3 separate regions of the Homo sapiens genome follow, and regions 2 and 3 are each linked to region 1. Evidence: promoter capture Hi-C in 16 types of primary human blood cells and fetal thymus (Javierre and others, 2016). All regions are on one chromosome and are shown on one strand. The core of a region is centred on a gene start or on the middle of the fragment in contact, and the rest is flanking DNA. Distances in the headings are between cores, read along the strand shown. Region 1 holds the start of WNT16 (Wnt family member 16). Region 2 overlaps CPED1 (cadherin like and PC-esterase domain containing 1). Region 3 overlaps CPED1 (cadherin like and PC-esterase domain containing 1).

Evidence for each region. The method cuts DNA at HindIII sites, captures the fragments that hold promoters and counts their contacts. A CHiCAGO score of 5 or more calls a contact.
Region 2: a fragment that was not itself captured here is called in contact with the fragment with the promoter of WNT16 in region 1 in 1 of 17 cell types (total B cells); the score reaches 6.3 in total B cells.
Region 3: a fragment that was not itself captured here is called in contact with the fragment with the promoter of WNT16 in region 1 in 1 of 17 cell types (total B cells); the score reaches 5.1 in total B cells.

Annotation. Positions count from the first base shown.
Region 1 is chr7:121,326,832-121,331,760 of GRCh38, reverse strand. WNT16 (Wnt family member 16) reads right to left here and starts at 2,761. Exons shown (of 4, transcript NM_057168.2): 1 at 2,374-2,761; 2 at 1,944-2,194; 3 at 1-83. The coding sequence starts at 2,468. The HindIII fragment of the contact is 8,913 bases long and covers 1-4,929 here.
Region 2 is chr7:121,241,445-121,246,373 of GRCh38, reverse strand. CPED1 (cadherin like and PC-esterase domain containing 1) reads right to left here. Exons shown (of 23, transcript NM_024913.5): 18 at 2,036-2,172. The region is part of intron 1 of LOC124901735 (a long non-coding RNA gene); the gene reads left to right. Among named protein-coding and RNA genes, the nearest start is that of WNT16, 85 kb to the left of the region's middle. The HindIII fragment of the contact is 1,455 bases long and covers 2,890-4,344 here.
Region 3 is chr7:121,256,141-121,261,069 of GRCh38, reverse strand. The region is part of intron 18 of CPED1 (cadherin like and PC-esterase domain containing 1); the gene reads right to left. The region is part of intron 1 of LOC124901735 (a long non-coding RNA gene); the gene reads left to right. Among named protein-coding and RNA genes, the nearest start is that of WNT16, 70 kb to the left of the region's middle. The HindIII fragment of the contact is 312 bases long and covers 1,846-2,157 here.

The DNA.
Region 1 (4,929 bases), core at 1,512-4,011:
GTTGCCTGCACTGCATGACCTGGTCACAGAATGCACCAGGCCTGCAGCCATCACAGCATAAATAAATGCTGTCTCTTTGGTGCCTAGAAAAAATATAAATTGCTAAATTAGAGAACCAGGCAACTTCTGTTTATGTTCAGAAGAAAGCCTCCTACTCATGATCTTACTGGACAAGTAATTTTTCAGTTGCTTACAATGGATGCGTTAACGAGTACATATTTAGAAAGGAAGATTTGCTCTTGTTCTAGTCTCTTAAAAAGCAACATTAATTTTCAGTATTCCACTTGAAGAGATTGTCATATACTGTATGGTCATACATTGTCCCTTTACCTTAAAATCATCTCTTTATTTTTTAAATTTGAAATGTATGTTTGCACCCAGTTCAGTGCACAGTTGACAGTCATAGCTCAGTAATACATGCTGAATTAAAAATTCTTTGCATAGATACTGTAAACGGTAATACAACACCCAAAGAACACTAGATTGCTTTTCTTTTGAAATTTAAAATGTGCTCTCACAGAACACAAGCTGAACATTTTGGTGTGATTTTTGTTTGCATAAATAATACGTGTCAGAATGAAAATTAAAATTAAGGAAAGACCAAAGCAATTAGTAAACGGTACCGTATATTTTCACATTAAAGATTAGTCTCACATTAACATGAAACAGTTAAACATTTTATATAGTATTAGCTACTCCTCTTACAGTCTTAAAGGCAATGAAAGGTAAGATAATTAAAATGTCACTAGCAAAAACATAATTCTATTAAAAATATTGAATATTGAAAATTATGCATTTAGCACACCTGCAGTAGAGTTTGAGCTAAAATCTTTGAAAATTAAAGTCCATTAAAACATTAATAACATGGACTAGAAGGGAATCAGCAGGCGACTTTTTTTTTTTCTTTCCAGATGTTTAGTTTGGAGTAGAAACAGTTTCATGCCCGCTGTCCAATAAACCTTTTCAACAGCTGATGCATTTCAGCAACTGTGAAAAACACATCTATTTTTTTTCTTTCTGTCTCTTTTTTTTTTTTTTTTTTTTTTCTCTCTACGGGGACCAGGGCTCCTTCGGAAGGGCGTGCCGGCCAGAACGCCGCGGGGGAGGTGCGCGGCTCGGCGGGGGTGCGCGCAGGGACTGCGTGGACAAGGGTCAAAGGCGGAGGGGGAACGGAAATGAACATGAAAAACGACAGCGCATCCTTCAGCGCCCCAGTCCTAACATTCTTTGGATCTGTTGATATTCCAGGAACAATCCTGGCTCCCTGTACCTTTATCCTTACCAAGTCACTACGCACGTGGAAGTGGAACTTTGTTTTCCTGCAGCTTCCCGCGCCGCGGGAGTGCGCCGAGGAGGGAAAGATAGAAAAGCCAAAGAAACGAGAAGCGCACAAGTGGTCCTGCTCAGGTTAGCCGCACGTTGGGTGGTCGCGGACAGTCGCTTTAAAAGTCACCATTATTCTGTCAACTCGGTGCTCCTAGGAGCCAATAAAGGTGGGGCTTCGCTGCAATTAGCCACTTGTCCGGGGTTTGGTGCGCAGCGGAGTTGGTTAAATCAAAGCAGATGCGGCAGCCGCATTCCCCGCTGCCGACATCATGTTTCTCCAGCTGGTCACCCACGTAGGGGGGCGCTACGGGGTCCGAGGGGGTCGGCGGGGTAGGAGAATTAGAGTTTTTTTTCCAACTCTGGCGGGGCACCGCAGGAAAGAGGAAGAGCTCCAGCCCCTAGAGCTCCGCTCTGGAACTGGGGAGTCACCTCCCTCCAGGCTCGCACCTGCTCCCCAGGTCTGGCCTTTGTAGCTCTCAATCCCCGTGCACTAAAGGGCTTCTTCTGGAACTTAGAGAGCTACAGGACCACGTAGCACTATTTACTTTATTTGCAGGAACCGGTGGAGGAGTTGTCGCCTTCCGTCCCCCACCAACCCCTAAGGACCCAGGACTCACCGCTGCTCAGCTCGTAGCCAAAGAGGGGGCTGGCGCCCATCGGGGCGGTAGTGGCGGCGGCGGTGATCATGCAGTTCCATCTCTCGTGTCTGAACTGGCTCCCGCACTCCTGAATGCCCAGCCGGGCGCCCTCTCGGATGCTCGGCAGCAGGTACGGTTTCCTCTTGCACAGCTCCTTCTGGCGGCTGTTCAGCGGCAAATTGGCGCAGCCCAGCTTCTCTGGAACCCCGAAGGAGGCAATGCCCAACCACCTGTAAGACACGGCCGCCCGTAGCGTTAAGCCGCTCCCCAATTCCAGATGTTTTCCGAAAAATTAGGTCACTCGTCTAAGGGTCCCCGCCCTTCTCCCCCAGCCTCAGTTGAAAGTTCCCTAGGATTGGGCACCCCTTTTGCCACCTACCCGATGCTTCCCTGCCACCTCCATACTCACATCCAGTTTCCTTGGGCTCCGTAGGGGAACAGCACGAGCAGGGCTGCCCACAGCGCGCACAAGCGGGCCAGTCCCAGGAGCGCCGCCCTGTCCATCGCCCCCGCATGGAGTCCCCCAGCCCAGCCGCTCCTCTTTTGCACCCCCTCCCCAGAGGCCCTTCGGGCCGCAGGTCAGTTGTCCAGCACCAAGTTATCCCTCGCCCTCTTCCTCCTTGCATACAACATTAAAAGGCCAGCAGTGATAGGGACTCTCAGCAGCTTCCCCCTCGTTTGCAGGGAGCTGTAGGAGAGATGGAGAGAGCAGCCTGGGGATCTCCTCCTGCGCAGGGGTGGAGATGTGCAGGAGATGCGGGAGCGCCCCTCGCATTCCTAGGTGAGAAACTTCTGTTGATGTATCCGCGTCTCCATCGCCCCCGGCCTCTCCTCCCATCTCCTCCCCCTGGCCGCGCCTGGAGCCTGATTGGCTGAGCAGCGGCCCCGCATCTCATCATCTCGGGACCTCAGGCTCTTATTGGTGGAGAGCGGCTCCGCGGGGGGCGCTCCGGGCACTGGCCTCAGGGACAGCGTGTCCAGACCTGGGTGTGTCATGACCTTTCCTGCTGTCACAGTCTCCTTAGAACGGGTCGTTGTGGGGTTGATTCAACCCGAAGACTAACAGGACGCTCTGTCTTAGCAACCTTGGGGGAAAGCGTGGGTTTGATGAGTCCCACCCATCCCACCAACATCTGGGTTACCCTCTGGGTGTAGTGGCTGGAAAATGTCACTGACCTTTTTTTCTTCTCCTTCACCTCACAGGAGAATAATCTTTTTGAGTCAGAGTTGGTACCGAACAAATTAACCTTCCAGTCCCCTGCTTGAGGTCCCACTGTCAGGAGACTTTAGAGAGTGGGTGAAGTGCTGTCAGGCTTACAATCACTGTCATTTATGTATGCATTTATTTTGAGCGAAAGAGAAGATTCCAGTCTAGCATCTCATCTGCCATATTTCAATCGTGCTCTGTGATTTCCTTTTCCCTATTTGTCTTATTTCCTGCAGTCCCTGAGAACGCTGTAAGTCCCCTGCAGAAGATGGGGACAAAGAAAGTGAGAGGTTTCTGGAGAGTTCTAGAGTACATGAGAGATGTGCTCTGATCTTTTTCTCCAGTCCTACCTTACGATTCTCATGGTGGGAGGGTCCCTGCCCTTCTCCCCCAACCTCAGTTGAAAGTTCGCTAGGATTGGGCACCCCTTTGCCACCTACCCGATGCGTCCCTGCAGGACAGGGCTACACATGGAAGACACATTTTTAAAAACGTACTTATTAAATACCTGCTGTGTGCCTAGTCCTGTGGGAATTTATAAAGACAAGCTCTCTTCCCACAACTGTACAAATAAACCATACACAAGTGTAAAAGAAAATACGTTTAGATGATCAGTAAGAGAGATTAAAGAATCTAGCAGGGTACTCCCTGGAGCCGAAGATAGTTCAGAAGCAGGAAGTGTTCCAGTTACTGGCAGATTTGGAAGGTTAGTTAATCAGTGTTTTGTAGGATGGAAGGTCTCCGAGAGTTATCTGAAGGCAAGTGCAACGTGTTTAGCTGTGGTATTGGGAAAGCCTGCCTCACCTAATTAGACACAAGAAATGTTTCTAAGAAGCATTATCTGTCCTTAGAGATCTTTTGAAGTGTTAATACATTCCCATGGTGGACGTATCAGCTCAGTGGGTACCCAAAGCCAAAATTACTTAAATAAAGGATTTGGGGCCAGGTGCAGTGGCTCACACCTGTAATCCCAGCACTTTTGGAGGCCAAGATGGGCGGATCACCAGAGGTCAGGAGTTCAAGACCAGCATGGCCAACATGGTGAAACCCTGTCCCTGCTAAAAATACAAAATTATTTGGGTGTGGTGGTGCATGCCTGTAATCCCAGCTACTCGGGAGGCTAAGACAGGAGAATTGCTTGAACCTAGGAGGTGGAGGTTGCAGTGAGTTGAGATAGCGCCACTGCACTCCAGCCTATGGCACACAGTGAGACTCCGACTCAAAAAAAAAAAAAAAAAAAGGATTAGATAGCATTAGCTGCTTATCTCCTATATCAATCAGTGAGCAATAAAAGCTCACTGAAATTTTCATCCTATCCCATTCACTCCCTTATCCAACAAATGTTTATTGAGTGTACACTATGTACCAGGTTCTAAAGCCACATTTTAAAGAGTCGAGGAGTCAAGTTGATGATAGGATGTAGATACTGATCCAGAAATATTTTGGCTAACGGCTAGTGGCCTCTCTGAAAGTCAGAGCCTTCATCCAAGCTCACTTTATTCTGTGAGCTTCTCCAAGAGGGACAATGGCGGATTCATTGCTGTACCCCTGCCATTGGGCCTAGTACATAAGATCCTGTTTTTGAACAAAATTTATTGAGTGAATTAACAATGAGGAACATCCTGAGTGGATATGTAAGAGGCCTAAATGCTGGAACTACAGTTTTTACTTCATTTCAAGGGGAATTGGAAGTGGGGAGGCAATCTCCGGGTTGGGGGTGCTGGACAATATCCATACCTTAGGCTGATTTTAGGGCCA
Region 2 (4,929 bases), core at 2,368-4,867, 86 kb after region 1:
CAGTCTATTGTATGTTATTATAGCAGCTCGAGCTAAGACAAACAGGGAAGAGGGCCTTTAGCTTTTTACAAAGTTGATTCATCTACCACAGAGGGTTATTTTACAGATGAAGAAAATGAGCCTGAGAAACAAGACGTGTCGTGTCCAAAACCGTAGGATTTAGTGATGAACTTAAATGAACATCTACTGCTTTTCAGGTTAATAGACTGTGACAGTTTCTTGGAATTTTTCTGAACACCCTAAATTCTGAGGTCAGAATGGTATTCTGAGCTTAGAGAAGTCTGGCTGTGTGGCAACAGCTATTGTCATTGCTCCCAGTGCAACATTTATAGGATATGGAGGCTGGATTATCCAAGGTGATGGTTTAAAATGCCTGTGGAGGGCTGGGCATGGTGGCTCACACCTGTAATCCCAGCACTTAGGGAGGCCGAGGCGGGTGGATCACTTGAGGTCAGGAGTTCGAGACCAGCCCTGGCCAACATAGTGAAACCCCGTCTCTACTATAATTACAAAAAATTAGCCAGGCGTGGTGGCAGGCGCCTGTAATCCCAGCTACTCGGGAGGCTGAGGCAGGAGACGCGCTTGAACCTAGGAGGTGGAGGTTGCATTGAGCTGAGATCACGCCATTGCACTCCAGCCTGGGTGACAGTGTGAGACAAAAAAAAAAAAAATGCCTGTGGAGTAGCCACACCCATACATGTATGATCATCAGTGAATTACTCAATCTCTCTGAGCTTTACTTATCTTAAGCAGAAAAAAGATATGATAATATCTACCTTAGCTGCAATTAGGAATAAATACACTTTTAATTTATTCATTTACTTGATAAATATTTATTAAGTTACTATTCTGCGTCAAAAATTATGCTCAACAATGAGATTATGGCGGTGGATTAAACACATTCCCTGCCCTTTTGAAGCTTACAGTCTGGTGGGATTTAAAGTGTAACAAATTTAGCAAGAAACACAGTTTCTTGCACAAAATCAATGCTCAATTAATAACACTGCAACATAAGTTCCTAAATGATTTTCTTCCCTTCTTTTTTTAAAAAAAGGAACTAACACTACTGATTGATCTTTAGAGACATTCTCAATCATGAAAATTGGAACATTTATATTGAAATCACCATGAAGAAGATGTCCATCTTTCTGTCCTGCCCCTCAGCTCCTGTTATTCTTCTTTAACTATTTGCTAGTAAATTGGCATACCTTCTGCCCAGGCCTTTTTTTCTATGTGTTTTAATAGAGCTTTGTGAAAATCAGCTTTTGAAATCAGTCTTGCTCATGTGTGAGAGCTTACAAACTGTATAAGGAAATGTCCATCTAATAAAAAGCACTTTGAAAATTGGGTTAAGGATTACTTACTTGATGTTAACCAAGCATCTCAGTCTATGTGCCCATTTTGCATATCCGAGAGTTCTGCCAGACTCTACCTAGTCAGAGCATGCCTAGCAAGAAGACACTGCATGTCCCAGAAATCAGCTTAGAAGCCTCACTAAAGGAAAAATCAGCCTAGTGAGGTCCATGTGAGACCTGCCCAGGAATATGAAAGAAGATCAGTAAGGTTAGTGCGTAAAAACAATCCCATGCACTTGGAAAGCTCTAGAAGTGAGTCTCACATGCAGGACCTTTTGATTTCCTGTGCTGAGCTGCAGATGTCTGTTTTCACAGCAGTGCCTGCCAGAGCTGCAGTTGACAAGGCCAGCTGCTCTCAACTGCCAACTGTCAGTTGACGTGGCAAGCTCCTACCAATTTGTGCTGAGAAAACAGCATGGAATCGGGTCAGCATAGGACAAGACTTTAATATCCTCCATCTGTCAAACAGAGTTACTTGGAGAAAACTGAACATTTGGAGCGGGAATTGTTCAGGCTATTCTATGATAACATCTATACATGATTCAAAAAGCCATATTGCATTCAGTTAGTTTTCCTCTGCTGTGAGACAGCAGGAATTGGTCTAGTAGATACAACTATACGATTTTTAGTACTTCAGGTGGCATACATTAAAGGCTTCCCCCACTAGATCCAGAACCTACCTTCCTTCCTCCCAGGCACTGCTGGAGTTGAGGCTTAGTTAGGACACCATATTGGCAGTTGTGGGGCTGCCAGGTTATTTCTCTCCAGTCACACGTCCTGTTGTCCGAACAACTAAGGCAAGGCACAATCCACTGGCCTGGAATAGATGGCAAAACTTTCTTTGGTTCTGTTTCTGCTGGTGAAGTTTGTAAGTAACTTTAAAATTCAGCTATGGCACACCATTTCAGAAATTATAGTAAGACCATCCTTATCCTTTAAATCTAGTGGAATAATGAAGGCATGGCTTCCTGCCAACCAAATAGAATAGCAACATTAAGTAATGTTCTGAAATAACACATTTCATGCTAAAATCAAGTATGAGCTCTGTTCCATGAAACCTTATACTTATTAAAAATCTAAGTATTACTCAATCATTACCTATTTTTAAACAGTACATTGAACACTTCAGTAAGACCAAAGCATTAATAGACTGGGAGCCCCACAAATTGGCAGTTAGCCTCAAATATTTATTAGCCTAACACATGCATAGGTTCTCTGTCCATAAGTATAATAGATCTATTCCCTGCTCTCAAGGGATTTAAGATACAAGAGAACTACTTCAGTATGATGATAATTTATTATTTTGAAGATTAGTTATTTTTCTTTGATTTGATTGATGGCCTTTTTCGTGTGAATGTCTTCACCTCTTTCTAGCTGTTGCCTGAATTTCTTCATCTGTTAGATGAGGTGTGTACAGTTCTTCTCACATGATTGGTGTAACAATGTAATGGAATAATGTATTTAAGACACATTTGCAATATTGTATTCATCTTTTGTTACTAACAGAGTTCAGGTAGAAAGTAGGTCCCAAGCTTTAGCAAATGTTTATAAAATAAATGAATATTCTCTATGCATTTAAGATCTTTCCTGTTTTACTGATAAAACAACATTCATGCAAAACACTTCAGCTTTTAGTGTGAGTGGATACATTAATAATGTGGTAGAAAAATATAATTTTTTTGTTTTTTTTTCCTTGTTCATCGTTTCAGGAATTGAGTGTGAACATAGCACATCATATGAACAAATATGGAGTGGTTATTTCTCTCCTTGTTGGAGAACATATGCAATTATTTCTCTGATAATCACTCTCCTTACCCTAAATATCTTGCTTATGTTACTAGTATATGTTTACCCTTCAAAACTGAGGAGCTAAATATCACCCAGATAGTTCTTGAGTTAGAAAGGAAAAAACTTAAAAACTTTGTCCATTCTGGCTTTGATTAGTGGTACTGCTAATAATGGTATCTGGTGTTATATTAATTTTAGGGGAAAGGATTTCTGTTTTTAGGAGATGAATATAGTGCATTTTATATTCATGACTTCAGGGATGTTAGAATTGTGAATGTGTTTGTGTATGTGGAAATAGTTATTAATATAAAATATGAAAGATGATATAGTTTATGGCTCTTACTGATTGAACACAGAAAGAGAAAGAAATGTAGGTATATTAAGAGAGAGAAACTGGAAGAGATAAAAGAAAATCGGAGGGAAAGGAGATGAGAAAAGTATGAACTCCAGGAAAGGAAAGAAAATATACAATAACTTTGAGGGGTACAATGTCAACTGGAAGAGAAATACCAAATTTTCAAAAGGAATGCAGAGTCATTTGTTCTTCTTACCACCATTTTTTCCTTTTCTTTGATTTTTACATGTAATGAGGATTACAGAAAACTGCTTTATTAAATGTCTATCTACTAAATACTTTCTATGCAATTTCAGGAATGATAAATTAACCTTTATGTCTCCATATACATATGACTCTCCAGAAGGATTTAAGTTTAATACATTAAGTATATACTCTGTTGAAGTGTTAGGCATTATTGGTGTTAAAATATCATAATAATTTTTAAAGAATAGTTGACATTTTTCAGTACCTCCCAAATGCTAGGAATATTCTGAAAACTTTAATTTATCAACATATTTAAACATCAACAACCCTGTTATCATCTCCTTAACCAGGGCTCAGGAACTTGTCTGAGATCCTCTAGTTAGTAAGTAGTAGAACTAGGATTTGAGCAGGGCAGTCAGCTCCAGAGTCCATGCTCTTAACTATAATGCTAAACCTCAAAAATTTATACTCAGGTTAGAAGATTATAATTTATACGTAATATAGAATAACTATAGCGTAAAAACAAGTAATGCATAATGGAGTAAAAATATCTGTGTGGTAAAGAGTTGGGGCTTTGGAGAGCATGCACACCTGGGCTCTATCTCCAACTGGCCCTGCGGACCTCAACATTGACTACATATTAGAGTCACTTGGAAAGCTTTTAAAAATTCCCACACCCAGATTGTACCCCAGACATTGAATCAGAATCAATGGGGATGGGGCTCAGAAATCAGTATTTTTTAATGCTTCTTTGGTGATTCCAATATGCTGCCAAGGATAAAACTCACTGTTTAAATTAGACAAATTACTTAATCTTTTCATGATTAAATTTACTTCTCCACAAGGAAAATATGTATAACACCTGCCATAGTGCCTGATTACCTAATAGTCAACATATATATTTTATGTATTTTCCCACCTCTACTCTCAGTGAGCCACAATTGTTCCAAATAGAGAAAGAGTCATGGAGGTCAGAGTTTTCTGGAAGGGTCCATGAAGCAGATAATATGTGAACAGGCCTTTAGGGACAGATAAGATTTGAAGACCTGGAAGGAGTGGTACTTTAGGTACAGTGAAGAGATGGGCCTGACAGGAGTGAGCCAGAAGAACTGACTGCATATCTTGGAGAAAACGAGGGTCTGCTATGTGAAAGATGTTTCTAAAGTTTCTGGTTGTAGAGAATGGCCGTACTGCTAAAAGAAACAACAGAAAATTTAGGAGAGATGCTGGTTTTTGAATGGCAAA
Region 3 (4,929 bases), core at 752-3,251, 70 kb after region 1:
TAAAGAATCAAGTTGGAAATAAAAGGAGATTTGGTGGCTATCTAGGTTGAATCAATACAAAGGTAGTATAACTCGTTAGCTTCTCAGAGTCTTCTGATCTGTTGCGGCAGGAAGAGAATTGGATACATGTAGTATTAATAGATAAGAAAAGAAAAAGAAAAAAAATTAAAATCATTTTCCTTTTTCCTTTCTTTCCTCCTGCATCACATCAGTTTTATCGTCAATATTTACAGAAGTGGTAGCTTTTCTCTGGATCCAATAAAGTGCACGTAGATTTCAACACAAGACTGAGCCTAGTTAACAGGAACCCACTAGAACCTTCCCAAAGGGGAAGTTATATAGGAGTGCAGTAAGAGCTAATTGTCCATGAATCCAGGTAATGCCTGTTTACTGGAGAGCTTTCACATTGCTATAGATAAGGGAAATAAAAGTGAGGTAAGGAGGAGTCTTATTTGTTACATCTAGGTCCAGAGCCAAGCATAACCCACATATTTAGAAAGCTCTACAGTGATACTGATGAGCCCTAAGGTCGAAAACCACTGATCTCCTAAGATAAACATGCATTTCTAAATGATGAAAGGGGTGGTTCAGTTGTAATATGAAGCTGAGACTGGTCAGACGGCTAATGATATTTAGGTCATGATGAAAAACTAGCTCAACAAAGCATCCCTCTGTGAAATGTGATGCGGTTACAATAAATGTTTTCCAATTGTGCATTTTAATTAAGTTGGATGTAGATGAGCAGCCAAATTGATGTTTGCAGTCAAAAACAAATATAAGATTGACACTTAGGCAAATCACTCTCAGACATAAAATTTGGCAAAAAAAAAAAAAAAAAAAAAAAAACGCGAAGCAAGCAACTCTACAACATCACCTAGGCATAGCTCTTCTAGCTGCTTGGAACAAAATTATTTGTCTACATTGCCATTATCTCTGGATTGTTGTAGTATTTATTGAATGCGAAGGAGGGCATCATGTGTAAGTCATCATTTCCTGGTAAGAGTGAGGTGCACTCTTTCCTTATATCTGACTGATTTACTGAAACTGACAGGCAATAATGAATTACGTAACCATAATGGAATTCACATATTAGTCAGAACATATTATTTTAAATTAGCCACACTTTGAAAATTTAAACACCTTTAAGTCCAAGACACTACTTAACATGAAAACATTACTTAAAAATTTAAGTTACATTCCCTGTTTTAACAGCTGAGTTTAAGTACTTTTTGTAAATATTGCCTTTTTATATTTCCCTTTCTTAATTGCACCCTCCTCTCAGATATTTTATTACTGGCTTAAATTCTGAACTGTTTTCCACTGACAAACAAAATAAAGGCTTGTTTAATTCAGTTAGGTCAGGCTTCTAAGTTTTTGCAGTTGTAAATTTGATTGTCATATTTCTAAACTATTTCCTACATATTTTACCCTGTGATTACAAAATTATGTTCTCATAATTTCTATGTGTTCCATTCAGCATTTATAAAGAGGTAGGTATCTATTTAAAGAAATGTGTGAACATATCATTTAATACATAGCTTGCTTTTTTTCAATTGATTTTCCTTTAATTCAACACAATTGTATATCACAAAACCTATGTACATATACAAAAACTTGTAAGTGAAATAAATCTATAAATGAAATTATTTGGATACATTTAGAGTTCAAAAGTGTCCTATATTCACCTAATGTTCAGAGGGGGAAAACTTGTTCCAACTTTCCACCCAAGATCAGCCTCCTGTTCATGTTGCTGCAATGAAGACAAATGACTGAGGTATATGAAGTATGATCCTGCTCACAGGCCATTAAGTGTGGTTAGATTCCTGGTCAAAATTACTAGAAGCTTGAGCACCTTTTCAGATCTCCACTGATTTGTGTCTTGTTCCTTCCCTATAGGCAGGTGGGCTTCTATTTGCAAGTACAGTCTTGGCATTCATCAATGTACAACAGTAGGAAAAAGATATAAAAGGTCACAATAACAACATAAGGAAATTCAGCTGAGAGAAATTACTACTTAGAGATTCTAAAGAAAGCAGAGCACTATTTGAAGGCCTAACTTTCTAATAGTTCTCAATGCCCTGGCCAAATTCCATTGCCTTTTAATTCAATTCTTCAGAGAGAGACAATTCACTTTAATATGTTCCCAAAGTAGAAGCTTGCTGTGATGTGATTAGCATTGAAAATAAAGTTTTTGTAGCACAATATTTTGAACTATTTATTCCTGGCAACAGTGAAACTTCTGGATTCTCACTGTTAAAAATTCGAATTTTACATATTAATTGAAAGTCTTCAGGAAGGCAACTATATTGTTAAAACTGTGTATTTAGGTACGTACACAATTTTACATAATCCAAGATATGTGAACTGGAGCACACTGAAGTGGGAACCTCAGAATCTTCTCTAGTGCCTTCTCATAGGTAGTTCCTGCCTTCTTAGCACTCCATTGTCTGTTCCTCCAGTAGAAAGCAAATCAAAGACAGCAGCATAAGGCTTGAGTGATAGGATTCTCAGAGTAGATGCTTTTGCAAAAAATAAATATCCGTATTTTTCTAGTTCAATTAACTTCTTTCAAAGTAATGTGACTCATAGATTGCCTTTCACTGCAAACACCACTCTGCCTAGGCAATTTTCTTCTGGCAACTTTTCTAGATCTTTCCAGGCTGGATCCAGTGCCCACCTCTACTTTCTACTATTGCAATTATTGTGCTATATTGCAATGATTGTTTCTCTCATTTGTCTTCTTCCACTAGAAACTGAGCACCTTGAAGGATCATATATGTGCTCCTGGAACAGATATTTGGTTCAACAAACATTGAATGAATGAACAACATAATATCAAAAAAGTTGTAAAAAGTATTCAGAAGTTAACTTTTTAAGTGTTCAGCTGGACTCTACTCTGTGGTAACATATTAGGGTAACTGATATTGCAACATTGCTGATATGGGGCAGCACAGTTAATCTGATGAGTTTAATATCTAAAAGAATCATTTCATCTGGTGGGATCAGAACTGTAGCTTAGGCTTCCTGATTGCCAGCCTGAGACTTTTCCTACTCCATTAATGTCCTGCTGTCCTTATGTATATGTGGAAGAAATTTCTGTATAATGTTGCTCAAATAATGTTACTTTCATTGAATATATAACATGGTAGGAAGAGAGGTAAAAAAGGTCAGTATATAATGTGTATAGAAAACAAAATATATTAGTTGTATTTCTATTTTTGTAACTGTTATGCTTTAACATTTATTTGTCTTTGGAATGGGTTGGAGATTATAGAACATTCTGGGTAGGATGAGAACTTATTTGTCTTAGTAATGAAAGAGAAAAATTACAGGATTGTTTTGTATATTTTTATCATTCTCATGGAAAGTAAGAAATAGATGTACCGGGAAAACCCTTTGCTCACCTACTCCTATTCATAAGTGAAGCTTTCTTAAAATAAGTGCTAGTCATAGTTGTATTTGTGAATGTTTACGCAATTATCTCTGTGTTGTGTGAAATATGAGTGTATACACCTGACTGTTTTTGGCTAACTCCTGTGATTCTGAATAAAAAAAAAATATCTTTCTCAGGCTCTCCCCTCTGCATTTCCACTGCCTCTGCCTTGGTTCTAATTTATACAACCTTTTCAAATACAGACTTTTAGATTAAGAAAACAGTGCTCACACACTGTAAAAATGAAAATCATACAGAAATATTTAAAAATATCTCTTCATGCTTAACCAACTATGCTTTACCACCCAAGCTGGCTTCATGGGCATGTGACCTGGACGGTCTTGCAGGGCCACATGCTTTGAAGGGTCTTGTGCTTGGTTCATTGCTCTTCTATTGTCTTTTTTTCCCCAAACTTCAACTTTTATTGCAGATATGGCGTATGTGTGCAGGTTTGCTGCATGAGTATATTGCATGATGCTGAGGTTTGAGATATGGATCCTGCTATGCAGATAGTGAGCACAGTACCCAATAGGTAATTTTTCTACCTATAGCCCCTCCCTTTCGTCCCCAGTAGTCTGTAGCATCTATTGTTCCCATGTTTATGTCCATGTCTGCTTAATGTTTAGCTCTCACTTACAAGTGAGAAAATGTAGTATTTTATTTTCTGTTCCTGTGTTAATTTGCTTAGAATTATGGCCTCCAGCTGCATTCATGTTTCTGCAAAGGATGCGATTTTGCTCTTTTTATGACTGTGTAGTATTCCATGGAATGTATATATGTACCACATTTTCTTTATCCAGTTCACCATTGAAGGGCACCTAGGTTGATTCCATGTCTTTGCTATTGTGAATAGTGTGGTGATGAACATACGAGTGCATGCGTCTTTTTGGCAGAACAATTTATTTCCTTTGGGAAGGAAATAAATAAATAAATATACCCAGTAATGGGTTTGCTGGGTCAAATAATAGCTCAGTTTTAAGTTCTTTGAGAAATCTCCAAACTGCTTTCCACAGTGGCTGAACTAATTAACATTCCCACCAACAGTGTATAAGTGTTCTTTTTGCTCTGCAGCCTCTCCAGCATCCGTTGTTTTTTGACTTTTCAGTAATAGCCATTCTGACTGGTATGAAATGGTATCTTATTGCTGTTTTCTTTTAGGATTTTTATAGCTTGAGGTCTTACATTTAAATCTTTAATACATCTTGAAATAATTTTTGTATATGGTGAAAAGTAAGGGTCCGGTTTCATTCTTCTGCATATGTCTAGCCAGTTATCCCAGCACCATTTATTGAATAAAGAGCCTTTCACCATTGCTTGCTTTCACTGGCCTTGTTGAAGATCAGATGGTTGTAGATATGCAGCTTTATCTCTGAGTTTTCTATTCTGTTCCACTTGTCTATGTGTCTGGTTTTGAGTCAGTACCATGTTGTTTTGGTTATTGCAGCTTTATAGTATAGTTTGAAGTTGGGTAGTTATGTCTTTGGCATAAGCTTTGT